2 separate regions of the Homo sapiens genome follow, and region 2 is linked to region 1. The links are contacts of gene promoters, found by promoter capture Hi-C in blood cells and fetal thymus (Javierre and others, 2016). All regions are on one chromosome and are shown on one strand. Each heading gives the region's core, a stretch centred on a gene start or on the middle of the fragment in contact. The rest is flanking DNA. Distances are from core to core; before and after follow the strand shown.

Region 1 (4,886 bases), core at 269-2,768:
GCGTGCTACATTGTAAATGGTCCTCAATGAACCATTTCCAAAGGAGAGGCAATAGGATGATGTGTGTCTTGGAAACCATGTCATAGCAAGAAACGTCGAAGAAACTGGAAATGTTGCCCTGATGCACAGAAAACTTTGACAGAGGCTGGGCGCGGTGGCTCACACCTGTAATCCCAGCACTTTGGGAGGCCAAGGCGGGTGGATCACCTGAGGTCAGGAGTTCGAGACCAGCCTGGCCAACATGGTGAAACCCTGTCTCTACTAAAAATACAAAAAATTAGCCAGGCTTGGTGGCAGGCACCTGTAATCCCAGATACTCGGGAGGCTGAGGCAGGAGAATCACTTGAACCCGGGAGGCCAAGGTTGCAGCGAGCCAAGATCATGCTATTGCACTCCAGCCTGGCCAACAAGAGTGAAACCCCATCTCAAAAAAAAAAAAAAAAAAAAAGAAAGAAAGAAAAGAAAAAGAAAAAAAAGAAAACTTTGACAGATCCTTTAGTACACAAGGATACAGGAGAATCAAGCCTATTCTGTATAACTTCAGAACTCAGAAGGACTTAAGGACACAGGAAGCCGCACGTTTTGGTTCAAAAAACTTTTGTAACCATTAAACAGCCTCATAATGGAATGGATATTTTTGAAATGAAGTGAGCTCCCTGCCTCTGGGAGTGTCTAAATGGAAGCTGGATATCCCTCTGTCCAGACTGCAGCTAGAATGTCTTCTACGTGTACCTAATAAATGAGTTCTACACAACCTTCCAGTGCTAAGGTCTCAGAAGCTATCAAACCACAGGGAAGGAAAAAAAATGAAGAGGCACTGAGAAAAGTGACAAACCACTAAAAACAGCCCCTAAAGTACCTTAGGCACTGCTTTACCTCTCTTCTAACCATCATCCCTGTAATAATATCTGGAAACTGCCTAAACAAGTGTTGACATTTAGTTGATGAATTAAGGCAAAACGCTGTCCTAGAGTGTGCACCTAAGAGATTTCTGATTAGTAGAATTTAAGTTACACTAGAGGACAGGGAATGATGAATTTATCCTGACAAAGTACTGTATTCACTCCAAAAGAAATTTACCAAAATAAATGAACACACGAATATATAAATAAATAGTTTTACTTTAAATGCATTATTTTTTTCTCTTAGGGAAATAACTGGCTTATATAAAGGACAATGTGTATATGGTGTGTATGTTTAAGGCGTGCTTCAAGGTTGCTCTCAAGCTGAGCCAGAACTATCACGAGAAGAGTGAAAGGAGCACCCGGGACGCAGAAGTTAAGGAGGCAGTTACTCCTAGGGTCCTGTAAGTGCTGGCAGGGTCAGCCCGTGAGAGTGAGTGCCTCTTTAAATTTGCGTCACAGACGCCTGCTTACCTCACCCCAGTCCAAGCCCTGTGATTGGTCAGGCCATCAAAGCCTCGCCCCCTACACGACCCGGAATTCGACGCCAACACTGGTTTCTGGGGCAACTTCTGCGTAGCTATGTGACTAGCACCCGGAAATAATTGCCACCGCCATCTTTTGGTGCAGAAGGTGACGGGAAACAGGCCGCAGACCTGAACTTCCAACCGTATGTAGGCGAGAAGCCGGTGCCGATACTCCCACTATCCCACAATGTCCCACTGGGCCCCAGAGTGGAAGAGGGCGGAGGCTAATCCAAGAGACCTTGGGGCCAGCTGGGATGTCAGGGGCAGCAGAGGCAGTGGCTGGAGTGGCCCCTTCGGCCATCAGGGACCGAGAGCAGCAGGCTCCCGTGAACCACCACTCTGCTTTAAAATAAAGAACAATATGGTTGGTGTGGTCATTGGTTACAGTGGATCAAAAATAAAAGATCTACAACATTCGACAAACACTAAAATACAGATCATAAACGGGGAATCTGAAGCAAAAGTCAGAATTTTTGGCAATAGGGAAATGAAAGCAAAGGCCAAAGCGGCTATAGAAACACTTATTAGAAAACAAGAAAGCTACAACTCAGAATCCAGTGTGGATAATGCTGCATCCCAAACCCCTATTGGAAGAAATCTAGGCAGAAATGACATTGTTGGAGAAGCTGAGCCATTGTCAAATTGGGATCGCATTAGGGCAGCAGTCGTGGAGTGCGAAAAGAGAAAATGGGCAGATCTACCACCAGTTAAGAAAAACTTTTACATAGAATCCAAAGCAACAAGCTGCATGTCTGAAATGCAGGTGATTAACTGGAGAAAGGAAAATTTCAACATAACGTGTGATGACTTGAAAAGTGGTGAAAAGCGTCTCATTCCAAAACCAACTTGCAGGTTTAAAGACGCTTTTCAGCAATACCCTGATCTTCTGAAAAGCATAATAAGGGTAGGGATTGTAAAGCCAACGCCAATTCAGTCACAGGCATGGCCAATTATTCTACAAGGAATAGATCTTATAGTAGTTGCACAAACCGGAACAGGGAAAACATTGTCCTATCTAATGCCTGGGTTTATTCATCTTGATTCTCAACCAATATCTAGAGAGCAAAGGAATGGGCCTGGGATGCTAGTCCTTACACCCACTAGAGAGTTGGCTCTTCACGTGGAAGCTGAATGTTCAAAGTATTCATATAAAGGTCTCAAAAGCATTTGCATATATGGTGGTAGAAACAGAAATGGACAAATAGAAGACATTAGCAAAGGTGTAGATATCATTATTGCAACTCCTGGGAGGCTGAATGACCTACAAATGAATAACTCTGTCAACCTAAGAAGCATAACCTACTTGGTTATAGATGAGGCAGATAAAATGCTGGATATGGAATTTGAACCCCAGATAAGGAAGATTTTATTAGATGTGCGCCCAGACCGACAGACTGTTATGACAAGTGCAACTTGGCCAGATACTGTACGTCAACTAGCACTTTCTTATTTGAAAGATCCTATGATTGTTTATGTTGGTAATCTGAATCTAGTGGCTGTAAATACAGTGAAGCAAAATATAATTGTTACCACAGAAAAAGAAAAACGAGCTCTCACCCAAGAATTCGTAGAGAACATGTCACCCAACGACAAAGTCATCATGTTTGTCAGCCAAAAACATATTGCTGATGACTTGTCAAGCGACTTCAATATCCAAGGCATATCTGCAGAATCATTACATGGCAACAGTGAACAGAGTGATCAAGAGCGAGCAGTAGAGGACTTTAAAAGCGGAAACATAAAGATACTGATTACAACTGATATAGTATCCCGAGGTCTTGATCTTAATGATGTCACACATGTATATAATTATGATTTCCCAAGGAATATTGACGTATATGTACACAGAGTAGGGTACATTGGACGGACAGGAAAGACTGGCACATCAGTTACCCTCATCACTCAGAGAGATTCGAAAATGGCCGGTGAATTGATTAAAATTCTGGACAGAGCAAATCAGAGTGTTCCGGAAGATCTTGTAGTAATGGCTGAGCAATACAAGTTAAATCAACAAAAGAGGCACAGAGAAACACGATCAAGAAAACCTGGACAAAGACGCAAGGAGTTTTATTTTTTAAGTTGAAAAGTTGTACCAGGCTACTGGAAGATTCCAGGCATGTTAAAGATATGCAGTATTGAATATATGTAAGGAAGTATTGGAAACATACTAGCCATTTGAAGACATAACTAATTCTTAAATAATACTGCTAAACTTTCAATATTGTGTATGCTCCTTAATTTTAAAAAAGTCTCAAAAATGAGAGAGTGAGAGACTGTGTGAAGAGAAAGTGAATGTTACGTGTTGGTTAAAGTTTAATTTCTCTTAAAAATACTTTTATTTTAGGTTTGGGGGTATATGTGAAGGTTTGTTAAAGAAACACGTGCCATGGGGGTTTATCAACTTTCAATATTGTGTATGTTCCTTAATTTTAGAAAAAGTCTCAAAAATGAGAGAGAGACTATGTGAAGAGAAGGTAAATGTTATGTGTTGGTTAAAGTTTAATTTCTCCTAAAAATACTTTTATTTTAGGTTTGGGGGTATTTGTGAAGGTTTGTTAAAGAAACACGTGTCATGGGGGTTTATCAACTTTCAATATTGTGTATGCTCCTTAATTTTAAAAAAGTCTCAAAAATGAGAGAGTGAGAGACTATGTGAAGAGAAAGTAAATGTTACGTGTTGGTTAAAGTTTAATTTCTCTTAAAAATACTTTTATTTTAGGTTTGGGGGTATATGTGAAGGTTTGTTAAAGAAACACGTGTCATGGGGGTTTATCAACTTTCAATATTGTGTATGTTCCTTAATTTTAAAAAAGTCTCAAAAATGAGAGAGTGAGAGACTATGTGAAGAGAAAGTAAATGTTATGTGTTGGTTAAAGTTTAATTTCTCTTAAAAATACTTTTATTTTAGGTTTGGGGGTATATGTGAAGGTTTGTTAAAGAAACACGTGTCATGGGGGTTTACTGTACATATTATTTCGTCACCCAGGTATTAAGACCAGTGCCCAATAATTATCTTTTCTGCTCTTCTGCCTCCTTCCACCCTCCCCCATCAGCTAGACCCCAGTGTCTGCTGTTTCCTTCTTTGCGTTCATAAGTTCTCATCGTTTGCTTCCCACTTATAAGTGAGAACATGTGGTATTTGAGTTTCTGTTCTTGTGTTAATTTTATAGTCTACCATGTCCATTTGTCTTCTCTAAAACACTTGGTAGAAGACAACAATGGTGCTTTTCTGGCTTTAAAATAGTTGTACTAAATTGAAGCATAGCTTCAAGCTTATCCAGTCAAAGTATTCTCTTTTCCCCCGAGCAGTTGGTGCCACAACAGTTCTTAAAGTTATTTCCACTATCATTCTCTACTTGTTTTAGTTCATTAGAAAATAAGTGCTAAATTTTTTAGAAGATTCCACAATTCTATTTTTATCAGAATGATGTCACCAGCAGAGCAGGATGTCTGACTC
Region 2 (4,881 bases), core at 76-2,575, 330 kb after region 1:
ATTTGGATGTCATCTCCTGTGTTTGGTTGGGTTCCACTAAAGACAGATCCTGAAATAAATATGTGGAAGCAAGAGGTTTATTTCAGAGAAGATTCCCAGAAAGCAGAGTAACGGAATGGAGAAAGGAGACAGAGAAGAGAGAAAAGTTTATAAAGGGTGTGTTAATGAGCATGAGTGTGTTATTGCTGTGGACAATGAGGGCTCCACTCCATTGGAATTCTTGGAGAGCCTGTGAGAAACACATCTCTGAGTTGTCCCACTGCAAGGCAAAGAAGCCTGGGTATTTATCCTATCCCTCATTAATTTAAGGTCATTTCTAGAGGTGTTAGCTCTCTGGCATTTCTAGTGTGTCTCATGGGCAGGAAACAGCTCAGACAGAGAGAGGCAGGAAGACTTCGGTGTAAATGGAAACTACCTAGAATGAACTTCTGGGGGTGGGGGGAGGGGATAAGGATGGAGCACCAGATGGCATCTGTGCACATCTTCTTTAAAACTTTTCCAACCCCGCCGCCCCACCCTGCCCGACTCTGCTTTTCAGGCTAGGTTAGAGGAACCTTCTCACTGATCGCATAGCACGACAAAGTCCTTGCCACACTACACAACTTTCTTGTTTCACTTGTTGGCCACACTCCACTGCACTGTGGACACCTTGAAGGCAAGGTCTTTACATCTCTTCATGCTCCGCATTTAGCAAAGCGTCCTGGACCTAGAAGGCCCAATAATGTATGTGTTTGTTTCAAAGCATTTTACATTTATCATCAACTTTTGCATCTGAAACCCTGCTTAGGAGGGAGATAGCATAATCATCATCTTCATTATTCTCATTTTAAGGATAGAAATCTTAACTGCAGTGATGTAACAGAGCAGATGAAGGACCTTATCTGTTGATGACTAGGCCAGTACCCAAACTACTTTAGTTCCTGTTGCTTAGCACACTGCAGGAGGTAATGGCATTCACCTGAGGCTAAACCTTTCAACCCATGGCAGAACAGAGCTTTCCATGTCCAGAATAATCCCCTTTACAATATTCAGAAGATGCCTGAAGGTGGAAGCAGGGCAGCCCTAGAAATGCCAAGTTCTGTGCTTTGTCTAAAAAAGGAAGCTTTGATTTTTTTTTTGGTCTTCCCTCACTTAGCCTCTCCTTGGAGCTGCCTCCTGATTTAACTTTTCTACAATTCTAATATTTGTGAATATGTAAATCAGATTTTACTATTAATTAATTCACCAACATAATGCCATTTATGAGAAGGAAGTGATCAGCCACGGGGAACAGAATGCCTTGTAGCTCTGTCATTTTTAAAAGTCAAAGCAAGAAGTACACAGTTCTAATAACAGAAGGGATGAAGTGCTTTGTTCTTAGGTTATGCTCTGGAGTACGAGTTTTAAAAGGATTAAATATATAAACATCAAAGAAAGACTGCCCCGAAGCTAAGAGTTGTATCAGGAAACCCCCTGCTTTCCTATGTCCCCTATGTTCAAACGTAAGACAATGGATCTGGTGATTAGAATGGTCTCTGTTCACTTTACACAGTAAAGGAAGAGAATTAAAGAAGCTTTCCCTTAGCAATATCACGACTACTGGTGAACAACTAAAAAATGGAAACATTTTAACATGCATAAGGTCAGAGTCTATTCAGTTCCTTTTTCTGTTATGTATTTTGGAACCACTTGACAGTTTTCCGTTTTAACATTTTGAGGGATTTTTCTTGGTAGAATTCAGACAAGGACTGCAGAAGTTTTGCCATCTGCAAAAAGAGTGGGTTGGATTAGATTAGCAAACACTTTGGGTTCCATACAATATTTTTGTTGGTCCACAAAACTCCTCTGAAGAATACCAACATTAGAAATGAATCCAAACACTGAAAACCCGATTAATGGATAGGCCACAATATTGCCATTTTACAGTACCATTAAATGAATAGCAAATACAGAAATAACATTAAATTGTTTATAATATTCATGGCATATTATGTTTTCTGATTAGAACGTTTTTAAATCTAGTCAAGGCATTTTAGAAATGGAATCAAGTAATTTTTTGCTTAACAGCAGAATGAGTGAATGGAAAAACATGGATTTTGATATCAGATAGTCCTGCACTCTATTTATACTTCCATTACGGTGTAACCCTGCACAAGACATTTAATCTCCTTAATCCTCAATTTCCTCTCTTTAAAATGGGTTTGACAATGCTTAATAGCCCACAGAGTGATTTTGCAAATTATATAGGCTAGACACTTGAAAGTGCCTAGGGCTAACCTTGGCACATGAAATGCATAAAAATATTCTTTTCCCATTTTCTATCATTCCTGTAAATTTTCAGCACGATTACTCCTTAACTGCAAGAGATTATATTTTAGAGTCATTTCTAACATTTCTCTTTAAATGTCTCCCTCCTCATACAAACATCACAAGGGTATAAAAGTAATGGACACAATTTGAAATATGATCATATTGGATTAGTGGCCCACCAATTTAAATTTATTTTCATCTTAATTGGCCTGGCTTAGAAAAAGATGATCAACTCCTGTATTATATTACTTTATAGAACCTCTTTAGCTCTAAAATGTTTCTAAAACCAACTTACAAGTGATGGAAGTTGGAAAGGGTAGGGGTAGCTAGGTTATATCAGATCTGTCCCTGGTGCTGAAAGTGAGCAATGTACCTAAACTCTCCTCATATAGATGCAGTAGAGGGGAAACTAGCGCGACTTAATGAAAATCCTGAATTGTGCCTTGTTTGCTATTAAGAAAGTGACATTACTCAGGCATCTCCAGAATACAGTGCTCATCCTCTTTGACCAAGTTAAAACTTTAGGACCACCCCAAGGGAAGAAAGAGAAAGTAGACACCAGCCCAGCCCACTGATGGATGCAGGCTGATGCATGCTGAAACACAATTACGTGCCCATCCACTTGAGTTATAGATTAGTCTTTAAATGCATATACACTTTGCTGCTTTCAATGTCCCAAGCGCCTCTAAGTGTTCCTTGTAAAATGTGTCTGAACCAGTATCCCATTCAGCACAGTTTAGCAAAAAGATACTCATTTATAGTTAGCAACATTCCTTTGCATATTAAAATATGCACATCCAATTTAAAGGGTTTCTCTTAAATAAGCACTCCCCATCCATCTTATTTACAGCTCGAATTTCTCATGTGGACTAACAAATATTTGACTATGTGAAATCAGAATTGTGAACTACTTTTTAAAAAATAACTGATCATTGGTTCTAACAAAATGATTTTAAAAATAATTTGTCTGAATGTGGCAGCATCCTTATCTTCCTTGAGTGATTTGTGTATTTTACTCTAATAAGCCACTAACATGCATTTACTCAAGCCTGCTCTGTGCTCAATCCTAGCACCAAAGTTCTGAAGGTGAAATCAAAAGGTAAGGTTCTTGGCCTGTAGGAAATTAAAACATTGCTAAGAGAATAGGAAAAATATATAATATATATAGATATATATATGAAACATCAGACAACAAAGAAGCTCAAAACAGCAAGCAAGATGCTAACTCTAGGGCTAAAGGTATTCTAAGACCAGGGACCAGCCAGATATCATTTATGATTTCTATGAATCCCACACACTGATGGAACAGGACTTCTCTGAAATTTACCTTATATAAGTTCATATTTTAATCCTCTGTATTTTCATTCAACCATATTAGACTACAGATTTCTTGAGAGCAGGGAATTCTTTGCTCAATTTCTCCTAGTTGCCAAGCACAGTAGGAACTTGCTCACTGAAATAATTCAAATAAAATCGCTCAGAGTTAATAGAGTTAAATTAATCAATGTTTGTTGTGGCAATCAGAGGTTTATTGGATGCGTGAGCTGGGATTTTGAGAGAACCTTGAAGGAAGGGAGGATTTTGAAAGGTAGAGAGAAGGTATGGCCATGCTTTCTGTTAGGAGAAAAAAGCAAAGCAAAGGTTTAGAGCTGGCCATCTCAACTCACCAGTGGCACTGTGAGCACAGACATCCAGAGAGTGTGTGCCAAAGTGTTTTCCCCTAAATCAGAACACGAAATACCTCTCTTTTGGCCCTGAGTCCTGTGTTTATTCAGGAAGATAATTTTGCATGACTTTTTTCCTTACATCATCACGGATCATTCTTCTAAAAGACTCATGATGCTTTTGAGAGCCTGCTGAGTTGGCAGAACATCCTGGAAGACCCAGACATAACAATTAGCCCACTTTTCAGCAGGGATCATCTACACACAGCAGTGTGTCTCTTTATCTTAAGCAAACAATTAAGGCTTGCCACACGTTTTCTCTTTTCGATTTCAAGTTTAAACTATCTTTAGAAATCTCTTTGGGTACCATTTCAAGGAGTACAGTGTTGCTGTGTGTAAAACAGCTTCTTGGTCAAAACATGGCTGAGACCCAGTAGATACTTGATGGAGACATCCCTACTCAAGGGAGCTCTGATGTTTGCCAGAGGAGCTTCCCTGCTTTGAAAGGACAATTCTTGTTATACTTTTACCTTCTCTGCATGCGATTCCATTCTCCAAGAAATCTTACGTAGATCTTTTAGGATAGCAGAAACACCCACCACTTGGCAATATGTCAGAACTATTGAGATTGGGATGGTATAAAATAATAAGCACACTACACTAAGTGCCACCTTCAATTGCAGCCTCCCAAATATCCTTTGTATTATATCACTTGCTATGCATAGTGATTTCATGGTTGACATAGAACTGTTTAGATTTAAGATATATGCATGAAAATATTTTGTTGTTTCTCAGGCAGAAAATGGTGATGTGATTAAAAGCTAATGCTTGAAACATTTGCTAGACAAGAGCAGGCCTTTTTTTTTTATAACCTTATCAAACCAAATAATCTTTTCTTTGGAATCCCTACTCCCCATTATGATCAATC

The links. Contacts are between HindIII fragments. The CHiCAGO score rates a contact against its expected background, and 5 or more counts as called.
Region 2: a contact is called between a fragment that was not itself captured here and the fragment with the promoter of DDX53 in region 1, in 1 of 17 cell types (megakaryocytes). The highest score is 5.5, in megakaryocytes.

What each region holds. Positions count from the first base shown.
Region 1 is chrX:22,998,442-23,003,327 of GRCh38, forward strand. It overlaps DDX53 (DEAD-box helicase 53), which reads left to right and starts at 1,519. Exons shown (of 1, transcript NM_182699.4): 1 at 1,519-4,886. The coding sequence starts at 1,617. The coding sequence ends at 3,512. All of the region lies in intron 3 of PTCHD1-AS (PTCHD1 and PHEX antisense RNA), which reads right to left. The HindIII fragment of the contact is 5,370 bases long and covers 1-4,699 here.
Region 2 is chrX:23,324,663-23,329,543 of GRCh38, forward strand. No RefSeq gene overlaps it. Among named protein-coding and RNA genes, the nearest start is that of PTCHD1, 7.7 kb to the right of the region's middle. The HindIII fragment of the contact is 451 bases long and covers 1,101-1,551 here.